Regions from separate parts of the Homo sapiens genome. Here regions 1 and 3 are each linked to region 2. Evidence: promoter capture Hi-C in 16 types of primary human blood cells and fetal thymus (Javierre and others, 2016). All regions are on one chromosome and are shown on one strand. The core of a region is centred on a gene start or on the middle of the fragment in contact, and the rest is flanking DNA. Distances in the headings are between cores, read along the strand shown.

Evidence for each region. Contacts are between HindIII fragments. The CHiCAGO score rates a contact against its expected background, and 5 or more counts as called.
Region 1: a contact is called between a fragment that was not itself captured here and the fragment with the promoter of DPYSL5 in region 2, in 3 of 17 cell types (megakaryocytes, erythroblasts and endothelial precursors). The highest score is 5.5, in megakaryocytes.
Region 3: a contact is called between a fragment that was not itself captured here and the fragment with the promoter of DPYSL5 in region 2, in 1 of 17 cell types (megakaryocytes). The highest score is 5.5, in megakaryocytes.

The regions. Positions count from the first base shown.
Region 1 is chr2:27,164,500-27,167,780 of GRCh38, forward strand. No RefSeq gene overlaps it. Among named protein-coding and RNA genes, the nearest start is that of TCF23, 17 kb to the left of the region's middle. RefSeq lists an enhancer at 893-1,202. The HindIII fragment of the contact is 1,403 bases long and covers 1,264-2,666 here.
Region 2 is chr2:26,846,660-26,849,949 of GRCh38, forward strand. DPYSL5 (dihydropyrimidinase like 5) reads left to right here and starts at 1,473. Exons shown (of 13, transcript NM_020134.4): 1 at 1,473-1,595. The HindIII fragment of the contact is 4,603 bases long and covers 1-3,290 here.
Region 3 is chr2:27,198,761-27,202,015 of GRCh38, forward strand. It overlaps SLC5A6 (solute carrier family 5 member 6), which reads right to left. Exons shown (of 17, transcript NM_021095.4): 13 at 3,228-3,255; 14 at 2,906-3,087; 15 at 2,590-2,693; 16 at 2,238-2,353; 17 at 827-1,819. The coding sequence ends at 1,676. Among named protein-coding and RNA genes, the nearest start is that of ATRAID, 12 kb to the right of the region's middle. The HindIII fragment of the contact is 6,317 bases long and covers 1-3,255 here.

The sequences.
Region 1 (3,281 bases), core at 715-3,214, 320 kb after region 2:
CTTTGGGAGGCCGACATGGGTGGATCATGAGGTCAGGAGATCGAGACCATCCTGGCTGACATGGTGAAACCCCGTCTCTACTAAAAAATACAAAAATTAACCAGGCATGATGGCGGGCACCTGTAGTCCCAGCTACTCGGGAGGCTGAGGCAGGAGAATGGCGTGAACCCAGGAGGTGGAGGTTGCAGTGAGCCGAGATAGCACCACTGCACTCCAGCCTGGGCGACAGAGCGAGACTCTGCCTCAAAAAAAAAAAAAAAAAAAAAAGACATCACTCAATACATGTAAGATGTACATTGGTTCAGTCCAGAAAGGCAGGGCAACTAGAAGCTGGTGGAGGGCTTCTAGGTCTTAGGTAGATTTAAAGATTTTTTGATTGGCAATTGGTTGAAAGAGTTAAGTTACTGTCTAAAGACTTAGAAATGTCCAGGTTAAGATAAGGGGTTGTAGAGACCAAGGTTTTATGATACAGGTGAAGCCTCCAGGTCTCAGGCTTCAGAGAGAATAGATTGTAAATGTTCTTATCAGACTTAAAGAGTCTGTTCTATCAGTAAATCCAAAAGGGAGGAGGGTATCATGAGGCATGTCTGAACCCCCTTCCCATCATGGCCTGAACTAGTGTTTCAGGTTAACTTTGGAATGCCCTTTAGGGACAGGAGGAGTCCATTCAGATGACTGGGGGTTTAGACTTTTATTTTTGGTTTACAGTGGGAAGTGAGGTCCGACATGTCTTGTTATACCCCTCCTCCCTTTTGGTGTTTAGGCACAACTGACAAGCATTGTGGTTAAAACAGGGATTATAAGACTGGCAAAAGAGAGTATCTGTGGCAATAAGATACCAAATTTTGAACAACAATCTGTTAGGCACAAACAGTTTCTCTTCAAAAGTTTCAGTTCCTGGTTCTTTGTTCTATTCTGAAAGTAATGTTACCTGTCCATCTATCAGCCCTCCCTATCTCTGTTGCACCCAAACACGTCCAAGCATGTCCCATCACCTATGTGCCCGTCCTTCCCATCAAGTGCCCACCCTTGCCTCCTTCGATGATGTCAATACTAGCCAATCGGGATTAGCTTAGATCGTGCGGTCTGACTCCAGCCAACCGGGGGAGGACCCAGGAACAGGGTCTGCATTAGGGATAAAAATGCCTGCTCTCCTTTGTTCAGTGTGCTCCCTTGCCTCTGCCTTGCATGCAGGTAGCACCCTTCTATAGAAGTAAAATTTTGCCTTGCAGAGAAGTTATCTGAGTGCTCATTTCCTTTGCAAGCTTTATTTCCTGAGCTTTATTTCCAACAAATCTAATAACCAGGCAGAATTGGGGGAAAAATAGAATTTTCAGAAATTAAAAATATGATATTTTAATTAAAGACTCAATGAATGATTAGAAACTGCTAGAGGCCATGAAAGGCAAGGGTTAAATCATACCCAACAAACCATAAAATCTCATTAACTGGGTTTTTAAAATTAACGCAGTATACTGTGGCTTACTTTCCAACCTGACTGTGGCTTAGCACCACATGGCAGATTACAGGCCCTGAAGGAAATAAAAATATTTTACTCCAAAATGTATTTGTTTGGCATACTTTGAAATGGTCCTGCAAAGCTGTCTTTCGTGGGGGAAGTTTGTATCTGTAGAGAATCTCCACCACTGCAACCAGGTCTTCCTTTCTAGGCCTTTCCAAGATCTAGGAGAGATTAACTGAGAGGCTGACACTTTAAAAAATCTGAAAAGAGACATTTACCATCTATTCTTTCTGAGGGCTGGTCCCTGTGAGGCTTCATCTCCATAATAAGGGCCTTGGCACCCGTGACTCCCTTTTTTATTTGTCATTTTTGTTGTTGTTGTTTTTAGACAGAGTCTCACTGTGTTGCCCAAGCTAGAGTGCAGCGGCATGATCTTGGCTCACTGCAAACTCCACCTTTCAGGTTCAAGGGATTGTTGTGCCTCAGCCTCCCAAGTAGCTGGGATTACAGGCGTGCACCACCAGGCCCGGCTAATTTTTGTATTTTTAGTAGAGAGGGGGTTTCACCGTGTTGGCGAAGCTGGTCTTGAACTCCTGACCTCAAATGATCCACCCATGTCAACCTCCAAAAGTGCTGGGATTACAGGTGTGAGCCACCATGCTGCCCTGACCCTCTTACCTTAACACAAGCATTCTTTTCTACTGAATTCAAGTCTTTAAGCAATAGCTTAACTCTCTCAACCATCAACTAAAGAATTTCTAAAACCCACCCATGACTTGCAAGCTCCCACTTCAAGATGTCCCAACTTTTCAGGCCAAACCAATGTATACCTTTTATGTATTGATTTATATCTTTGCCTGTAACTCCTGTCCCTCTAAAATGTGTAAAACCAAAGTGTAACCTGACTCCTCAGGCACACTTTCTCAGGACCTCTTGAGACTATTCCCCTGGCCATGGTCACTCATATGGGCTCAGAATAAACTTCTTTAATATATTTCACAGAGTTTGGTTTTTCTGTTTACAAGCCAATACCCAGGCTATATGTGAGGCTGGGGGCTCTTTGCTTTTTCTCTTTTGGATTCTGTTTCTGGGAATTTTTTTTAGTTGATTGACACCTCTTACAAAAAAAAAAGTTTGATCCCTCTGCTTTCTGGTTGGCATGATTTTGCTGATGAAAATGTAAAACTTAATTGGCTTTTTAGAAAGCTTAAAACCTCCCCAAATTGGCTCCTCTAAGATTTGTTCTTCCATTTCCTGCCACTTCTGGTCCTCTATAACCCACACTCTATAGCTCAACACTGTACAGCCAATCATTAATCAATGTTATTTCTGTAAACCAATGAGAATTCCTGACAAACAACTTTGTATCAGCCCACTCCTTGTCCTCTTTTTTGCCTTTAAAAACCTGCTTGTAACAAAGGCCCAAGCCTCCACCCATTTCTGACACTATGGTAGACTAGATGTTCAGAGAAACTCTCCTGGTACAGAAACTCAAAATGATGGCTAAAATCGTAAAAACATATTCTTAAAAGTATTGCTTGCCTGGCAGAAAAGTAAGGGAAAAGAATAAGAGAAAGAATAAGGAAGCATGTAGCAAAAAATGGTAAGCCAGCACTCAAGTCAGTGCTGCCTTTGCAATATCTGCAAATTCCTGGTGCCCAAGGCCTGGGTCTTACGGGCCACACCTGGGGACAGGAGACAACACCTAGGGCCCATTCGAAATGGGAAGTTGGATCAGAGACTCTGTCACAAAGTTGGGATCCTCAAAAGGCAACACCCTCAGTAAGGATGTTTTGTTGTGGGGGAGGCCAAAATTTTA
Region 2 (3,290 bases), core at 223-2,722:
CAGCCACATCCCGGGCTGCACTGGGTTAGGGATGCTTTGAGGTTCCTCTGGGGGCTCCCTGCTCTCTGCTTACCAAGCAGGCGGGAGTTGGGAAGGGGAGAAGGAGTGCAGACTCAGGGGTGGGGTAATCCAGAAATGCATCCCTCAAAGGCCAGCCTGGCCTGGTCCAGGCCCTAAGCTCTCTGGGGAAGGACGGCAGGGAACCCCGCCTTGGCGGGCTCTGCGGGTCCTGCGCCCGGGTAGATTTTGCTGAGATGGGGAGAGGGGACCCCCTCCACGCCCCCGGAGTAGTGAACACCATTTTGTTTGAAAGTATCCTGCAAAGAGAACCACCTCACGAGGCCATGGCTGCCAGGGGACTCCTCTCCCCACCGGATCGCCGGGGAGCCCGGGGAGGGAGGGATTCTGCAGCTGCAGCTTGGAGGTCCTTGATGCTGCATTTTAACGCGCATCGCAACGCCTTTGGAGTGACATTAAGTGCAAAGAGGCAAATGACTAATCCAAACTATTATTACAACTGCAGAAAATAACACAGATCAATGGCAAAGGCTTGAACCGGGATTAGCTAGGGAGGTGGGACAAACCGGGGATGATCCTTCCTCTCCTTTTTTAGATTTGTTTATTTTGGTAAATTATGTATGTATTTAAACATGAAGAAACAGGTGAAGCGAATGTAAATTGGGTTATAAATAATTTCCAAAGGCTTCGCTGTCCCTTGACAGAAGCCAGAAATAAGACAGGCACTGGGCCTGAGCGCTCTGGACAGGGAAGCACCCGCGTGGCGCTGGGCAAAATCTTCTCAGTGGAGAGAACGCACTCCGGGTTCGAGACCTCCCCGGGTGCAGATGCGAACTGCGGTGGCCCCAAGTGGCCGTCCACTTTGTTCATGAGAACAGTTTTCCTATAACGCCCACCCGGCCCTTTGCATCCCGCAATCCCGCGGGCGTCGGAGCGGGTCTTGGCGCGAACCAGGCGGCCTCGGCGGGGTCCTGCGGCGGAGGGCAGCGCGGCCGCAGCCCGGGAGAGGCGGCCGCGGCATTGTTTCAGCCCCTGGGGTGGGATCCAGCTGGGGGAGGGGAGGCGGGGTGTCCTCCGGAACCGCCCCCGGCCCTCCCTGGGGACCCGTGCCTCAGCGCGTCCAGGCTTTGTGGTGTCCTGAGTCGCCATGGAAACCCGAGGGAACGCGGAGCCGGGTGCTAGGGGGGTCGGTGAGTTCTCCGGCCGCGCCCTCCGTCCGCTCTCGGACCCCGGCCCTGCAGCAGGGCCTGCCGGGAGTTGTAGTCCCCAGGCGGCGGCGGCGCGCGGCGCCAAGGATGCGGGACGCCGCCTGTCCCCGCCTCCCCTTAACCTGCTAGCTGAGGTGGGGAGCGGCGGGAGGAGCCGGCCGCGCGGTGATTGGCGGAGGCCGCTCCCAGCCCCCGACACGCGCCCCTCCCCCGCTCCCCACTCTGGACTCCCGCGCTGGGCGCGCTGAGGCGGCCCCCGAGCGAGCGCGCGTGCAGCCGCCGCCGCCCCGAGCACCCGCAGCTCCGGCGCCGCGGCGAGACGGAGACGGACCGAGCCACGGGCCCCCGCGGCCGCAGCATCTCGGAGGAGTGGGTGATGGCAGGGGGGTCGGTGGGCTTACCCCTCCCGGGCTAGGACATCCTCCTCTCCCCCTTCTGTTTCTGCGTGAGGCGCACAAAAGGGCGGGGAGCCGGGTGAGCCTGGGGCCCGGCCGCAGGGGACGCGGCGGGAGGTGTGGTTTGGGGTTGGGAGGTGGCCATCGGGGCTAAGCCGGGGCGCTCTTGGGGTCCTCTTTGTACGCCCGCGAAGCGCCGTGCCGGGCCTTGCTCATAGTAAGCGTTTAATGCGTGCTCGCGGGGTTGCAAAGCCCTGGGGTGAGGAGGCGGCTCGGCCGAGGGGTTTCGCGCCTAGCACGCAGTGGGCCGCTTTCCTAGCCGGGCGCGGTGCAGTGGACCGCTGGAGGGCTGGGCGGGGGCGCCTCTGGCCGGGGGCCAGTCCTGCCGGTCCCAGGATCTGCGCTGTCCCCGGTCCCACACACCACCCAGATACACACCCTCCGTCCTTCTCGCCTCCGAGCTGGGATCTGCCCAGCCTGGACCCGACCCGGCGGTCTGTTCCACCGCCCGGCTAACGGAGCGGACGCCTGCAGAGGACTCGCCCGCCGCCTCCGAGCCTCCCGCCTGAGCCACAAAGGCCTCCTGCGGCTGCCCAGCCCGGAGCGGGCGCCGAGCCGGGTCCCTCGGCTGGAGCCCAGCGCGGGAGCCCGCCTTGCAGCATCGATCTCAGCGGGCACCGACGTCGACGCCCCGGGCCTGGGGACGGGGCTGTAGTCTGAGCTGGAGAGAAGCCGGGAGAGGGCGAGGGGAGGCCTCGGTTGAGAAAAGATGGGGATGGGGAAGGCTGGGGAGCTGGGTTAGGACAGGTAGTGGGTCTCGGGGAGCAGGGAGTGGGAACTAGGGTTTGAGGAGGAAAGAGAAGGGGCGGGGGCGGGTCCGAAGAACGAGGGAAGGAGCTCGGTGCAGGTGGCGCCCGGCGAGGCTGGTTCTGCTGAAGAATGGGGAGGGGAGGAGGGATGCAGGCGGGTGGAGGCCGCCTGGGTTTGAGGAGGGAGGACGGGAGCGAGGAGAAGACCCGCGCTGTGCGGGGGAGGGGGGCCTCCTGGGAAGGGGAGCCTCCCGAGGAGGGAGGGGCAAGCAGCTGAGAGGCGGTCTCGGGCCCGAGGATCCTCAGCTCCAGGCGCGGGGCCCCGCGGCCCAGGTGGCCGGCTGGGCGTGGCCCTCGGACCGGGGTTAGGGACCCAGGATGGCAGATCCGGGACCGGGCTGGGCTGGCTTGGTGAGGAGCTTTGTCTCCAGGCTTGAAACCAGCCGGTAGCGACTCGCTTAGGGTTTTGTGATCTTCCGCGGCGCCCACGGCACGCCCTTTTCTCGAGGAGCTGAAAGGCTTTGCCCAGCAGCAGGTGCTGCCAGGGAGGCGGATCTCCCTTCGGGGAGACCCGGAGAACAATAGCCGACCCTGGTGTCCATCCGACGACAAACCAGGGCCACCCAGGACGCGAGGGTGCAGTTTTCTGGTGCTGGGAATACTCCCTGCGGAACCTCCGGGCACGTGCTGGCTTTGGGGTTTTATGGGGGCCTGGCCACGCCGGGAATCCCGTGTGGGAGGCGCTCCCCCGGCCTGGGGGCCTGCAGACAGCCACCCCCCCACTCCGGCTCGGGTGCCTTCTGGTGCAGCGCCGCCGCCCGCCCCGCGCTGTCCACCCGCTGCCGAGACGCGGCGTGGTT
Region 3 (3,255 bases), core at 18-2,517, 350 kb after region 2:
ATGTTTATGTTCAAGACCAGAGCCTTGTGGAATGGAAAAAAAAATCCAGGGCAACAGGTTTAAGACCCATTAGGAGACAATATTGTCGTCATGAATATAAATGAGGCCTAGGCAGGTTGGGAGTAGCTAGTGTCTTGGCTCTGGCACAACCAGGCCCTGTTCCTCCACAGGGCTGGCCAGGGCAGAGGTGAAAGGGGCTGGGGTGTGACCGAGTGAGCTGGGGTAGAGGTAGAAAAAGGGACACAGAACATCCCAGGCCTAAGCTACATGGAGTATGAGAGAACAGCTGGAATGTGCTCTAGAAGCCCTGGGAGAAGGCCTCAGTTGAGGCTGAATTCAGATATGCCTGGGACCCGGTCTCTGTTAAGAGACCCCGGAGAGCTGGTGCAGAGCTGATGTGGGCAGCTGAACAGGGCCAGGCAGGGGCAGAGGCCAGGTGTGGGAGGGTGTGAGCACAGTGTTCTTCACAAGACCATAAAAGTCCAGCTAGAATGTTCCGTTTCTAAAATCAGATGGGAACATTCTTCCTCCAGTTCCAAAAGTAAAAATCTGAGAGCAAAAGGTTCTGGCAAAGGGAAAGTGGGGCCGGAGAAGGGACAGACTAAGTAAGCCCCAGGGGATGAGAAGCCCTAGGAGAGGGTGTGCATCTTCTACCATGGTGAGCACAACACTGTCCCCTGCAGACACAGGGACAGCAGGGACTTGAAGCCACAGCCCCCCTCCTCAGCACAGGAAGGTGACCTGTACATAGGATAGGACTCCTTATCCTCACCAGAGGATGCAGTAGGGTGGACAAGAGCAGGTGAAGACAGTACAGGAGCCCAAATTCTAGGTCCAATGGTAGTTTTTATTCCCCAGGAACAAAGATAATGTGGAGAAGAAACTCCAAAAGGAAACAGAGCACGGATGACAGAAATGACACCACGGCAGCCTGGCTCAGGAGTCAGGTAGATAGATGGCTGCTCCACAGTGGACCCGGTCATGGCCCTGGTTTCTTGGATCCACATTTGCCCCGTCTCTTAAGTGTCCATCTCAGAGGTGGAGGATGGAGACAGTGAGGTGGAAAACGTGCTTGCTCTACACAAAGACAAATGGATCTTCTATTCCCAGAGGACCAGGGACACCAAAACCTCCCTCTTCAGAATGGAGGTAGACAGATAAAAATGAGAGGGGCTTGAGTGTCACAGACAATCTGAAAGTAATAATAGGGGCTCACTGTGGCTGGCAGAACTGGTACTGAAATGGGGACTACAGGGGAAGCAGCTTCCAGTTTTATGGTGGAGAGTCAGTCCTGAATCAGGCCCTGGGGCAATTATAACCAGAGTGCTGTTTCTAGCCACTTACTTCAAAGGACTATGGCTATGTTGAATCAGAAGCCATTATCTTTTTCCCAGAGGATGCACTTCCATCCCTATTTCTGGCATGATCCTGCTCCCTACGAGCCTGATCCTTTAAAAAACAGATTGGCAAGCGACGAGAAAAACGGTGCCTCACATGCTTGAGATGTGACAGCTTCTCCTGCAGGCAAGAACCTCTCAGAACAAGGTCCTTTGGTATGAGCTAGATCATCCAGGCCTGTCCCTGCAGAACACACCAAGACTCATCCCTGTACTACAGGGTGGCCTCTGGCTATGGCCTGGCACAGTGAGGACAGAGGCGGGGTCCTGAGTCAACATCACAGGGAGGTCTCCTGGAGGATGCAGGTGGAGCTGCTCCCCTGATAGGCTGTGCCATCCAGGGCCATGGCCTCCTTGTCTCTGCTGTCCCCCAGCACACCATTCCTCGGCTTCTCAGGAAACAGGCCAGTGTCGAGGTGGTCCTGCAAACACAGAGCCAAAGGGGTGGAACTGGTGAAGACGGATGACGGGTGCTTGACAGGATTCACACAAAAAAGGTCCCCGCCAGAAGGGAGCCCAGCAAGGCTGGGTTCGGGAGGGAGAGCAGGGGGAAAAGAGGGAGGGCATAGCACAGCAGGGAGCACAGGGTGGGCTGGGGAGGGGAGCTGACTGGCCCAGGCTGGGGCTGAGCTCCTCTGAGCCCTGAGATCCTTCTGCCCACCAAGCCAGTGCAGTCCTGTGGGTAGAACCTGAGACAGCCGTGTGGGACAGCCTAGGCTTAGCTGATCCTGAGAGAGGCACCCGGGGCAGGGGGAGAGAAAAGGGGTAGAAGGGAACCTGAAGAGTCAGTGGCATCTGTGGAGAAGGGCAGGGAGGGGTCACTTGGACAGCAGGTACTACCTGGCCGTAGCTCCTGCAGTGGAGCCGCTTCTGACAGGACAACGGAAGGAGGGACAGGAGCTTTGGCAACACTGGGTAAATGGTTGCAGGGTTCAGGGACCGGCCTCGCATTCTCCCTGAATGGAAATGTGCTTCTGAGTCTCTGGGTGGAACCATCCACAGCAGCGGGCCCCATGTCCTCCCTTGGCCCCCAGAGACCCCAGCCCCCACCCACCTCCTACATCCCAGCAGAAAAGCCTGACAGCTACGGACACCCAAGAGCTCAGAGGGCAGGAGCCTTTCTCCCTAGAGTCCCTTAGGGCCCTCTGTTAACCCCTCGGTGCTCATCTGCACCGCAATCCCACACCCTTACCAGTGAGTAGACTGACAATCAGGCCCACCACAATCACTGTGGTGGAGTTGTGAGCACTGTACCATAAGTAAGACAAGGAATAGAACCGCTGCAGCCCTGTGGGCCTGGGAAGAGCAGAGGTGAGAACAATTAGCAATTCGTTGGCAGGGCATTCCTTGGGCACCAATCTCTACTTGCCCGCATGGTCCCAGGGTCTTGGGACCCAATACCCAACATTTCCCTGGGGCCTCTGGTGGCCCATCCCTTAGCAAGACCCCTGTGAAAGCCCTCAAAGGAGGGCTTTGAGAAAACAAGAAGATAGCAAGCCCTGCCTTACTTGGAGAAGGTAGTCAAGGGCATCAGTGTGGTCACAGTGGCAACGGTTAGATTGGTGGGCAGGGAGAAGCTGGACCCATTAGAGGGAGAGGGTGGCATGCTGGAGCCCATGCTGGTCACGATGCTCCCGATGCCAATCCAGAAGGCCATGACGAGCCCAGCCAACAGGCCCACAACAGCACCCTGCCGAGACACAGTGCAGGCCTGTCACAAGGCCAGTCCTGCCAGCCCTCACGGCAGTCCTCAGCTCTCCTGGTGACAGCCCTGCCAACCCCCAGGTCCATCCTGCTACACATGACTGTGGATCCAGATGCATCACTCACAGGAGGGTTAGCACATGGAAAGAACATT